Linked DNA regions of Homo sapiens: region 2 is linked to region 1. The links are contacts of gene promoters, found by promoter capture Hi-C in blood cells and fetal thymus (Javierre and others, 2016). All regions are on one chromosome and are shown on one strand. The core of a region is centred on a gene start or on the middle of the fragment in contact, and the rest is flanking DNA. Distances in the headings are between cores, read along the strand shown. Region 1 holds the start of ITPA (inosine triphosphatase). Region 2 overlaps DNAAF9 (dynein axonemal assembly factor 9).

What was found. Contacts are between HindIII fragments. The CHiCAGO score rates a contact against its expected background, and 5 or more counts as called.
Region 2: a fragment that was not itself captured here is called in contact with the fragment with the promoter of ITPA in region 1 in 1 of 17 cell types (fetal thymus); the score reaches 6.6 in fetal thymus.

The regions. Positions count from the first base shown.
Region 1 is chr20:3,204,411-3,210,944 of GRCh38, forward strand. It overlaps ITPA (inosine triphosphatase), which reads left to right and starts at 5,088. Exons shown (of 8, transcript NM_033453.4): 1 at 5,088-5,207. The coding sequence starts at 5,142. DDRGK1 (DDRGK domain containing 1) reads right to left here and starts at 272. Exons shown (of 9, transcript NM_023935.3): 1 at 127-272. The coding sequence starts at 217. RefSeq lists enhancers at 1-183, 4,683-5,331, 5,214-5,283. The HindIII fragment of the contact is 7,672 bases long and covers 975-6,534 here.
Region 2 is chr20:3,318,386-3,324,919 of GRCh38, forward strand. DNAAF9 (dynein axonemal assembly factor 9) reads right to left here. Exons shown (of 37, transcript NM_001009984.3): 14 at 6,507-6,534; 15 at 4,267-4,311; 16 at 3,832-3,877; 17 at 1-15. Among named protein-coding and RNA genes, the nearest start is that of SLC4A11, 82 kb to the left of the region's middle. The HindIII fragment of the contact is 1,022 bases long and covers 2,470-3,491 here.

The DNA of each region.
Region 1 (6,534 bases), core at 3,838-6,337:
CACGGACGCGCATGCGTCCCGCCCGCCCAGGTGCGCACGCGCAGGAGCCGCGGCGCGACGGTCCACAAAGGCTCAGAAGGCCAGAAAACCCGGTACCACCAACCCTGGTGCAGCGGCATCTCCTACCTGATGCCGCCCGGCCCCGGCTGCGAGTCAGGAAGAGGATAAAGCCGACTAGCAGAGCCGCCGCTACCAAGTACCACACAGGCGCCACCATGACGAGGGCCTCAGTGCAGAACCACTGCGTCCACCCTGAGGCCGGGATCTCATAGGCCCCGCCCCTATTTCCCAATCTAGACTCCGCCCACTACTCGGAGCCCCGCCCAGCGGCACATCACAGAGAGGCTTTAATGTCAGACATTAAAATGAGTTTGGGGGGTGTAAAGAAACCCACAATGTTAAGAGGAAATTATAGCAGACGGTATGTCCAGTAGAAAACATCTATGTATGTTTTTTTTTTTTGAGACGGAGTCTCTGTCGCACAGGCTGGAGTGCGGTGGTGCGATCTCGGCTCACTGCAACCTCCACCTCCCAGGTTCAAGCGATTCTCCTGCCTCAGACTCCCGAGTAGCTGGGATTACAGGCGCCCGCCACCACGCCCGGCTAATTTTTGTATTTTTAGTAGAGATGGGGGTTTCACCGTGTTGGCCAGGCTGGTCTCGAACTCCTGACCTTGTGATCCACCCACCTTGGCCTCCCAAAGTGCTGGGATTACAGGCGTGAGCCACCGCGCCCGGACTATATATGTTTTAAAAATCACTAAACAATCCCACATAGTGTTTATGGAAACAACCGTGGAAAAAGTACGAAAAGAGGCTTGGGACTGATGCACACCAACTTCAGGATAGCGATTACCTCTAGGAGGAGGGAAGCGGGTTGGGGTTTTGCTGTATCTGTGACACTGAATTTCTTTCTTTCTTTCTTTCTTTTGAGGGGAAGGGGAGGGGAGGGGAGGGCAGTACTGGAATTTATTAAGCTTTTTGTATACATGATAACAGAAGTAAAGATTTATTTCAGGAGCCAGGCACAGAGGCTCGTCTGTTAACCCAATACTTTGGGAAGTCTAGGTAGAGGTGAGCCTAGGAGTTCAAGACCAGCCTGGGCAACATGATGAAACCCTGTCTCTACAAAATACAAAAATTAGCCAGGTGTGGTGGCATGCACCTGTGATTCCAGGTACTTGGGAAGATGAGGTGGGAAGATCACCTGAGCCCAGGGAGGTCGAGGCTGCAGTGAGCCATGATCATGCCAGTGCACTCCAGCCTGGGTGATAGAGTGAGACCCTGTCTCAGAAAATAAAAATAAATAAAAATAAATTCAGGACCAATGAACAATGGTGAGAAAGGGATTTGAAAAAATACGGGCCAGATGAGGTGGCTCTCCCCTGTAATCCTAGCACTTTGGGAGGCCGAGGTGGGCGGATCACTTCAGGTCAAGTGTTCAAAACCAGCCTAGCTGACGTGATGAAATCCTGTCTCTACTAAAAATACAAACAATGAGTGGGGCGTGGTGGCACATGCCTGTAATCCCAGCTACTCGGGAGGCTGAGGCAGGAGAATCACTTGAACCCAGGGGGCGGACGTTGCAGTGAGCCAAGATTGCACCACTGCACACCAGCCTGAGCGACAGAGCAAGACTCTGTCTCAAAAAAAAAAAAAAAAGAAAGAAAGAAAGAAAAAGAAAAAGAAAAAATATGGGCTGGGCGAGGTGGCTCACACCTGTAATCCCAGCACTTTGGGAGGCTGAGGTGGGTGGATCACCTGAACTCAGGAGTTTGAGACCAGCCTGACAAACACAGTGAAACCCTGTCTCTACTAAAAATACAAAATTAGCTTGGCGTGGTGGTGGGTGCCTGTAATCCCAGCTACTTGGGAGGCTGAGGCAGGAGAATCTCTCGAAGCCGGGAGGCAGAGGTTGCAGTGAGCCGAGATCACACTATTGCACTCCAGCCTGGGCAACAGAGTGAGACTCAGTCTCAAAAAAAAAAAAAAAAAAAAAAAAGCTGGGCACCGTGGCTCACGCCTACAATCCCAACCAACACTTTGGGAGGTCGAGGTGGGTGGATCACCTGAGGTCGGGAATTTGAGACCAGCCTGACCAACATGGAGAAACCCCATCTCTACTAAAAATACAAAATTAGCCGGGTGTGGTGGCTCATGCCCATAATCCCAGCACTTCGGGAGGCTGAGGCAGGCGGATCACGAGGTCAGGAGATCAAAACCATCCTGGCTAACACGGTGAAACCCCGTCTCTACTAAAAATACAAAAAAATTAGCCAGGCGTGGTGGTGGGCGCCTGTAGTCCCAGCTACTTGGGAGGCTGAGGCAGGAGAATGGTGGGGACCCGGGAGGCGGAGCTTGCAGTGAGCTGAGATCGCGCCACTGCACTCCAGCCTGGGCGACAGAGTGAGACTGTCTCAAAAAAAAAAAAAAAAGAAGAAGAAAGATACAAAAATTAACCAGGCATGGTGGTGCATGCCTGGAGTCCCAGCTACTCAGGAGGCTGAGGTGGGAGAACTGCTCGAACCCAATATGCAGAGGTTGCAGTGAGCCGGGACCACACCACTGTACTTCAGCCTGGGCAACAGAGCAAGACTCCATCTCAAAAAAAATAAATAAATAAAAGAATGAAAAAGAAAGTTATCTATGGACTTGTAATTATAGATGTCAGTTGTGATCTTTTTGTTTGTTGGTTTTTTGAGACAGGGTCTCACTCACATCACCCAGGCTAGAGTACAGTGGCACTCTTGGCTCACTGCAGCCTCGACTTCCCAGGCTCAGGTGATCCTCCCACCTCAGCCTCCTAAACAGCTGTGACTACAGGTGTGTGCCCCCAAGCCCAACTAATTTTTTGTATTTTTTGTAGAGACTGGGTTTCACCATGTTGTCTAGGCTTGTCTTGAACTCCTGGGATCAAGTGATCCACTGTGCCCAAGCTAGTTATCTTACATTACAGAACACCTACTATGTACCAGGAGCTGGGATTTAAGAATGAGAGGTGAGGCTGGGCACCGTGGCTCAAGCCTGTAATCTCAGCACTTTGGGAGGCTGAGGTGGAGGGATCTCCTGAGGTCAGGAGTTTGAGACCAGCCTGGTCAATATGGTGAAACCCCACCTCTACTAAAAGTACAAAAATTCACTGGGTGTGGTGGTGCATGTCTGTAATCCCAGCTACTCAGGAGGCTGAGGCAGGAGAATCCCTTGAACCCGGGAGTCGGAGGTTGAAGTGAGCCGAGATCGTGCCACTGCACTCAAGCCTGGGCGACAAGAGCAAGACTCCATCTCAAAACAACAACAACAACAACAACAAAACACAGTGGCTGATGCCTGTAATCCCAGCACTTAGGGAGGCCGAGGTGGGCATATCACGACGTCAGGAGTTCGAGACCAGCCTGGCCAACATGGTGAAACCCCGTCTCTACTAAAAATGCAGAAATTAGCTGGGCGTCGTGGGGGGTGCTTGTAGTCCCAGCTACTCAGGAGGCTGAGGCAGGAGAATCGCTTCAACCCAGGAGACAGAGGTTGCAGTGAGCCAAGATCATGCCATTGCACTCCAGGCCAGGTGACTAGAGCAAGACTCCGTCTCAAAAAAAAAAAAAAAAAAGAAAAAGAGAGGTGAGCAAAAACAGATATGGTTTTTACCATTAGGATTTTTAGAAGAGAAAACAGAATCACACAAATGAATATCTATTTGCAGTGCAGAGGTCAGTGCTATGCAAGCAGATGAAAGGGAGCTCAGGGAAGGTTTTCCTGAGCTGGGGCTTGAGCTGGCTAAGATCCAAGAAAGGCATCCATGTAAGGTGGGCTGTTTTTCTTCTTTTCAGGCTCCTCGGGGTAACTGATGTCCCCCAAGCCCTCCTCTGCCCCCAAATCCCCATGGCCACTCCTCTAGGGACTCTGCATAATGGTTAGTGTTTCTACTTCAATAAAAGAAAACAGGTCACCACCCAAAGCAGTGGTTCCCACACATTTTTTTTCTTTTTCAGACGCAGTTTTGCTCTTGTTGCCCAGGCTGGAGTCCGATGGCACGATCTCCGCTCACTGCAACCCCCACCTCCCGAATTCAGGCGATTCTCCTGAATCCTGAATTCTCTGAACTGGGATTACAGGCATGCACCACCATGCCCAGCTAATTTTGTACTTTTTGGTAGAGATGGGGTTTCTCCATGTTGGTCAGGCTGGTTTCAAACTCCTGACCTCGGGTGATCCACTCGCCTCAGCCTCCCAAAGTGCTGGGATTACAGGCGTGAGCCACCGGGCTTTCCCACACTTTGATGAGCATCAGAATGGCCTGAGGAGCTTGGTAAGAACTCAGACTCCCTCCCTTTCTTGTCCATGGGCAGAAGTGGCCATTCAAGAGGTACTGACACAGGGGTCCAGGCGGGGGGCAGAGGGCTGAGTCTCTGGAGGAGGGAGGTCAGATGACTTGCTGCAAAGAGAGTATCAGCAGAGGTTCAGCAGACCCACCTTTGAGAGGGCACTTCCTACTTTCTGTTGTGTTTGGAATGCAAAGATCTGGCTGAAACGGTGGCCACGGAGAAGGGGTGATAGATTTGAGAGGCTGGAGGGATGAGGAAGTGAGGAACTCTACATACTGAGCTCTCAAGCCTAGGAGTGAAAACGGGTGAGAAGTTTGGGCTTGTTTTAGGCTATGCCGAGTTTAAGTTCACAGTCGAGTGGATCATAGCTGGCGGGTAAGGCTGAAGGTGAGATCAGGATGAGGGTTTGGAAGCCCTTGCCTAGAAGGAGGCAGTTTTTTGAGACAGCATAGGAGAGCGCAAACCTCCAGGGTCACAGGGCTGCAGTCTTCTCCTTTCGGAGACCCCATTGCAGAGAAGAGCGAAAGCAGGGGCGGGGTGGGGGTGGGAGTGGTCTCTTCCGGTTCTTGAAGATAGCGTCCCTTAGGCAGGAGGGGTGGGTCACTCAGTCTCCAGGCTCGGGAGGCCCCCAGCAAATCGGACGCTGTGGGCTAGGCCGCCACCGCGAGCCCACTCGCCCGATACGCGCCTTGGGGTCCGGGTCGGCTTTCCCCGGGACCCCTGGCCGGAAACTGAGCCGTTCACTTCCGCCACCAGCCGGAAGTTTTCTGTCACTGGACGCCAAGGAGTTTTCGGTGGCTCAGCTGGGTAACCGGGGATCACCATGGCGGCCTCATTGGTGGGGAAGAAGATCGTGTTTGTAACGGGGAACGCCAAGAAGCTGGAGGAGGTGCCGGGAGGGTGTTGGGGGCTAACTGGGAGGCGGCTGGGAATAGGGCGGAGAAGGGGCTTCCGGGAGGAGGGAAGCACGTGGGAGGAGGCATGGAGAGAGAACAGAATTCAGCCCGGAAGAATGGGTCCTGACCCGGCTGTGTGGAAAAGCTGGGGCGCAAGAAGGGAGTGGCTGCAGAATCGGGGCGCCCCGGGGTTGGCGAGGGAACGAGGGTCTCGACAGATCCCGACACAGGGCTTGTGTGGTCAGCGACTGCGGGACCCGGAGGAGTAGCGGGGCTCTTAACAACCGCCCCGAAGGTCACCTATTGAAGTAGACCCCAACCCAGTGTCCCGACACTCTTCTGGGACTTATCCACATCCCGCTGCTGGGCCAGGGCTAGCAGGACCCAGAGAGGGCGTGGGACGGAGTTCCACACTGAGCAGTCCGTGCCTCACCACCGTCCTGAAATGTTCTAACCTCTTTTCGCGTGTGTGAAATGGGGATGATGCAGGACATTTGCTTCACAGCGCTATAGAGAGGAGGAGTAAAGGAGGCAGTGGATCTAAAGTTTCTGTTTGCAGGGACTTTGTGGCTAGCAAGTAACAGAAACACACAGGGAGCTCATGTAAGCCACCAGATGACTCCTGTGGGAATATAGTGTTATCGTGTCCCACAGGACCTGAAGTTCTCTCAAGAAGCTGACTTGTCCTTGTTCTCTCTGGATGCTGATCCCTATTCCTGTTCATATCTTTCCCCTTTCTTCCCTGCTGGGGGATGGAACAATGAGGCTTCTACCAGATATCAGCTCCGACTGGCTTTGCTTGAATCAAGAGTTTGCCCCTGTTCAATCAGCCATAGCCATGGAGTGGGGGTCATGTGTGGGGGATCAGGATGACACCCACTGGATATGTCTGAGGCAGACCAGTGGGGTGTAATCACTAGGGACACCTACATTTGCCTGTAGTGTAGGGAGGGACTGATGTCACTTTGGTGCCAGGACTGAGTGGCCTTCTCAGGAACCAGAGCCTTTTGCCGAAAAAAGGTTTGGGATCCTGAGGCCAGACCAGTCAGGCAGTCCACCCTGAACAGAGCCCATGCAGGACAGTGGGCATGAGACCCCAAACCTCTGGCTGAGAATATTGCCCTCACTTAAAGAAGGAGCTGGAACCCGAGTGCAGTGCCTCACGCCTGTAATCCCAGCACTTTGGGAGGCTGAGGTGGGCAGAACATCTGAGGTCAGGAGTTCAAGACCAGCCTGGCCAACATCATGAAACTTCATCTCTACTAAAAATACAAAAATTAACTGGGCATGGTGACACGTGCCTGTAGTCCCAGCTACTCG
Region 2 (6,534 bases), core at 1,731-4,230, 110 kb after region 1:
GACGGCCATACAAGCCTGCATTGAATGAGAAACCAGTTAGATCAGTTACCAGCCCAAAACTTTCAGAGAAGTCCATAAGAATGAGACCACAAATACTGCCTAAAGGAACATGGCAAAAGAGTACTGAAGAGTTTCTAGGGAAAACTGGAGTTATCCTAAATACATCTTTGAACTGGGAGGTGACTTTAGGATCACCCAGGCTTCCCTGAAATTGCTCCCTGATCAGAGACACCCTTGGGCTATAAGGAAAGTATCCTTATGTTTCCGTATATTCCCTCAAATTGCTTTATGCTGACTAGGCACAGTGGCTCATGCCTGTAATCCCAGTAATTTGGGAGGTCAAGGAACCCAGGAGTTTGAGACCACCCTGAACAACACAGTGAGATCCCCACTCTACTAAAGAAAAAATTAGGCTAGGCATAATGACTCATGCCCATAATCCCAACACTTTGGGAGGTTGAGGCGGGTGGATCACTTGAGCCCAGGAGTTTGAGACTAGCCTGGGCAACATGGTGAAACCCCATCTCTACTAAAAATACAAAAAAAAATTAGCCAGGCATGGTGGCGTGTGCCTGTAATCCCAGCTACTTGGGAGGCTGAGGCAGGAGAATTGCTTGAACCTGGGAGGTGGAGGCTGCAGTGAGCTGAGATCGCGCCACTGAACTCCAGCCTGGGCAACAGAGCAAGACTCTGTCTCAAAAAAAAAAAAAAAAAAAAAAGAAAAAAAAATAGCCAGGCATGGTGGCGTCTGCCTGTGGTCTCTGTTATTCAGGAGGCTAAGGCAGGAGGATTGTTTGAGCCCAGGAGGTTGAGGCTGCAGTGATCTATGATCATGCCACTGCACTCCAGCCTGGGCAACGGACCGAGACCCCGTCTCAAAAAAAAAAAAAAAAAAAAAAAAAAAGCAAGAAAGCTATCAAGCTTTTATGGCCAAGACAAATAAAAGCTGAGGCTTCAGTAGCCTGGAAACAAAATTAGAACAACTCAGAGAGCTCCCAAATGTCTGGTAAGAAAGCCCTAATTTATTAGGTAAAAACTAGTGAAAATGAAACAATTCCGGGAAGAAGCCAGCAGAAGAAAGAGAAAATGATGTTAGCTAGAGCTAGAGTCTGTGATGACCAGGAAGATCTGATGAGGGACATGGGATAAGTAGCACAAGGACCTGTCCCCTCCTACCCTGAATAGTAGTGAGCGGTGGGTGCTGGTGCAGATCTCCTAAGTCCACTTTCACATATTGTCGTCCTAGCCTGGGACGCCTGTCCCACCCCTTAGGACAGAGACAAAAGATCTGAGGCTCTTGAACGGATTGCTGAATTTTCAAATAAAAACTTAAAGAGGCCACAAGGTTGAAAGGAAAAAAACCACAGTTAAGGCCAAAGCCCTTAATTTTCCATATTATTATGATAATAGGATATACAAAAGAGACAAGTAGGCGTCTATATTTGAATTAACTTTCCTTTCAGGTTTGACAACTGGAAGGTTTATCTAAAGCTGTCTCAAAGGATTTCGAGCATCTGAAGACACAGAACCCTCCTGAGCTACATGGTCCCTCTTAAGTGACAATGGCAATCCTATGTCTTTGGTTCCCAGACCAATCAGGTGGACAGATCCTGGGGGTTCCTGATCCTTCATGTTCATATTTGGCCACTGGTATTGAGGAAGGGAAGAGAGGATATTAAAAAGATAACATGTAGCATTTGTTGGACACTTGTTATGTACTTCCCACCATGTGGCACGGGGAAAGAAAAAATACAGCATGGTGCCTGTCTTCAGGAAATCTATAATGTATAGCTGGAGAAACAAGGGCATTCTTATATGAAGGTCATCATATGACACATTATGATATCATATGACACATTAGGATATAATTATTTCTTAATTTGTGTAGTACAAACTGCAACTGCAAGGACTATAGGAATACTTGTAGGGAGAAATCAACAGGGAAGGCTTTGGGGAGGATATAGAACTTCATCTCTGGATAAGAGGACAGAATGTAGACAAAAAGCATCAACTTCCTGCCTCTTATTTCCTATCTCATTAGCTGTGCATACTTGACGCAAGACTATGATTTTACTGGATTCCTAATCACCTGCTACTATGCAAAGCATCTTCCAAAGCACTGCTCAAGAGTCTAAGGAGAGAAGTCAGGGATTTAAAGTCTAACAAGGAGATAAAGTATTATCACCTAAATATCAGAAAGTATTTCCCAATGTTTTAATGATATCACAAAAAAGTCTAAACTAGTTCTAAAAGAACATCCACACAAAATGTTGACAGATGGGGACCAGGAACATTATAAAAACATAAATTACAACCTTAAAAAAATTACCCTTGTTGTGCTATTCTCTGTAGATAGGTTAACACTACTGACAGGAACTTTTGAGTTACTTTTCCACAGGTGATGGTGATGGGGATGCGCTTGTACCAAATTATCCACTGGGTGCTGCTCACCCAGTTCCCTGGGACCAAAGCTTTTTCAAACTAAGGCTCAGGCAGTGGTCACAGAACAGACTCAAGATATAACACACACCACAAACAGAATCTTGGCTAGATATGTACTACCCTCTCATGTACCATTTGCCAATCTTCTTCACATCAGGATGTTCTGGGGTAAAGGGAGGACTCAGCTTGTGGCTGAGAACAACTGGCCTAGAAACTCTGGCTCCCCTTCGCCATGCCATCCCACCCCAGGGACCATTATCTCAGTGCATCTCCAAACCATGCCCCCAGCACACAGGTTGGAAAACGTTGCTCTGACTACTCTACTTCATGGCAGACCCAGGTCCCTGTTGATTATTGGCCATTTAAATAATTATAGTCATGTATCACTTAATGACAGGGATACATTCTGAGAAATGCATCATTAGCTGATTTCATCACTGTGTGAACATTGTAGAGTGTACTTAAACCTAGATGGTGTAGCCTACTATACACCTAGGCTAGCTGGTATAGTCTATTGCTCCTAGGCTACAAACCCGTACAGCATGTTACTATACTGAATACTGTAGGCAATTATAACATGATGGTAATATTTGTGAATTTAGGCATATCTACACATAGAAATGGTGGGTAAAAATACAGTATTATGATATTATGGGACCACTGTTGTATCTGCAGTCCACTGTTGACCAAGATGTCCTTTTGTGGTACAGGACTGTAGTTAATTTTCTCAGGTTCCCTGTTTTTGTTTGTTTGTTTTCTGAGACTAAATCTCACTCTGTCATCCAGGCTGGAGTGCAGTGGTGCAATCACAGTTCACTGCAGTCTCAAACTCCTGGACTCAAGTGATCCTCCTGCCTCAGCCTCCTGAGGAGGTCGGGCTACAGGTGCATGCCACCACACCTGCCTAATTAAAAAAATTTTTTTTTTTAGACACGGGGTCTCACTACGCTGTCAAGACTGGTCTCAACTCTAGGTTCCTGTTAAGGACATCAATGCAAGTCTTGGAACTCAAAGATGCCACTGAAAAACTTAGTCTGTTAGTCAAGGCAAGCTTGTCCTGGATTCACATTTCGACAAGAGCAATCTCAGCTACCTGTAGGAAGGCTTCATAACCCAGAAAGAGGTGCCTCCCAACACCTCAGTTAAGACTCTGGACACTGGGGAAGCCTAGGCAAGGGAGAATAGATGTGGGTGGGCCTAGCACAGCTACCTGGGTACCTTCAGTAAACACAGGCTCACCCCTGCTATGGCTGGGATAGGACTGAGAGAAGATCAGCTTCTTCAGGTGGGGTGGGCTGCCCAAGACCCCCACCCACTCCCACCTCCCAACTTACAGATGTCCCTCTACAGGCCATTCCCAGCCAGCTGACCCATGATAGCTCTGCTTACCGTCTTCACAAAGGATAAGCTATCTTCACTGTCCAGCGGTACAATTCTAGGAGGGGAAAGAGATGGAAGACTATGTTAAAGAGTTTTTAAGTGTACTTAAATTTACAGTGTTTGCTTTTTTCAACTTGGCAATGACAAGTCATAGATTCGGATTGCTCTTAGGGCCTTTCAAAACACTGGGTTGCATGTCTGTAGAATTGGTATGTGGGCCACTAAGGTGAGTATGTCCATCCCCACCTCTGCCCCTCAGCTCTGCAGTGGGAAGCACTCAGGGTACAGGGGCTCAGCTGAGCACAGCCAGCCCAAGCCCAACCCTGGAGTGATGTCACTGCTAGGTGTGGAAGCATGAGAAAACCACTCATGTCAGCAGCCTCCCCTCTCTTTATCTTCCTAAAACTTGCTCCATGTAAGGATGCACCACAATCATATACGCACCTTCCCTGATTATTCACAGCATGTATATGAAAAGTCATCTTGGAGCTGTAGACCAGAAACAAAACAAAAGAAAAATCAGTCTGCTCCTGCTCCTCAGATACCTGTGCAGGGTACCTGCTTGGGATTCTCAAGGCCACACAGTGAGGTGTGTGTCATCCTTGCTTTACACAGATTTACCCTATTTTGGATACTTTCCCCAGGGTCCCACACCACCAGCAGGTATGAGGCCAGAATCTGACTCTAATCACAGCCCTGCCTCTGTGCAAGTCCTAAGGACGGTCTTGACTCTTGGACCACAACAGGAGAAAATGACATGAGAGGACTGCTGCTCACTGCAGACTGAGAATGACCCTCCATCCCTGCTCTGAGCGCAAGCAGAGGCCACGTCTCTGCAACTCACAGTCAAATGCTGTGGAGCCATGGGTGAGGCCTTCAGAGTTGAGAAATAACTAGAAAACCCTTTCAGCTTACTCTAACTTGTGTAAGTGTAATCTCTTGCATTAACACATACTAGATAGCTACACACTAATTACTGTCTGCATTCATGGCTCCCACTCCTTCCCCTCTTGGGAGAAAGAGATCTGCTAACCTGAAGCAGTTTGAGGGTCCTCAGTGAAGTAATCTTTTTTTTTTTTTTTTTTTTTTTTTGAGACAGAGTCTCATTCTGTCACCCAGGCTGGAGTGCAGTGGCGCAATCTCGACTCACTGCAACCTCCACCTCCTGGGTTCAAGCGATTCTCCTGCTTCAGCCTCCCCAATAGCTGGGACTACAGGTGTGTACCATCATGCCTGGCTAATTTTTGCATTTTTAATGAAGGCGGGGTTTTGCCATGTTGGTCAGGATGGTCTTGAACTCCTGACCTCAAGTGATCGCCTGTCTTGGCCTCCCAAAGTGTTAAGATTACAGGCGTGAGCCACTGCGCCCCGCCCTCAGTGAAGCAATCTTTGTGGTGAGAAAGGGGAGGGGCTCTAGGTGGAAGACTGGCCTGGGGGACTTTTCTCCCATTGACTGGTGTTTTCTTCTTGTGCCTTTCTCCAGCTAGGGCAGACACCTAGGCCTAGGAGGCCTTGGGACTGAGAGGGGGCCTGCTCTGGGGAGGCTGAGTGGCCTAGGCAAGGGCCCAAGTAAAGGAGAAGTAGAATGACTATGCCAGCCATATTGATGGTAAGAGAATACCCCACTGTGACAGCAGCTAACATCTATGTGCCCAACTGCTTTACAAGGTGGGTAGCTGAAGGAGCAGATACAGACAGTTCCTATCTTGCCCAAGGTCACACAGATGCAAACTGAAGAAGCGTTCTCAAATTCAGGTTGGCCAGAAACAGATAGCACAGGGCAGCACAAGGTCTTAAGGGAACAAACTTCCTTTATCCTTTCCCTTTCATGGCCAGGGCAGCAAGATCCAGAAGACCCAGGGGAAAGAAGACCTGAAGCAAGTCTAAAGCCCTGCACCACAGAGTTCTGGCTCTTTCTTCCACTCCTGGGGCTGCAGAAATAGAATTCTTTTTGTTAGACCAATTAATTGACTAATCTTTCAAATACTCTCTCTTATTACACAGGACTATAGATTTAAGAAAATGTGGGACATAGACCTGAGGCATCACAGGACACATCCTAGAAGTATTCTTAAATAAATTCCCCAGTATTGGTGTCTTTTGTATCCTTTGTATAAAAGTGCACATAATGGTCCTCACGTGAAACAGTGGTTAAGTGGACTGGGTTCATGAAGATTTAGCTATGGATAACAACCACCGTGACATGCTGGGAGATGTGATGGAAAAATCACCAGATTCTCAGATGATGCAGACCCCAGGACACGGCCAGGCTCAGGGTTTCTGTCATTCAAGAGACAGATGAGGCCCAGTGCAAGTTTCTTCTAAGCAGTGACTATCTTCCTGTGCCCAGGGCCCTCTGCCCCTAGAAACCTCACCATTCAGGTACCCAGCTTTGCCTTTCTAGCCTTGGAACCCAGGCTTGTCAAATCTCCTGTGATGCTGGTGTTAATCTGCCCTGCATTCTAACCTCAGAACATGTGTGTGACTTTCTCAAACAGTTCCTGCATCTTTGGCTCTTTGGCTTCTAAGTGAAGGCTGAATCATGAATGATTCTCCTTCACACATCCCATTATTTTACTGAAACATTTCTCAAAGGGGAGATGAAATCTAAATTATAAGGGAAAAAAGAATATTCCAAAACGAAGAAAAAAAATTCCTTATAAAAAATATCAGCCATTGCTTACCGCAGGGCTGCCTTAAACGGAATCAACT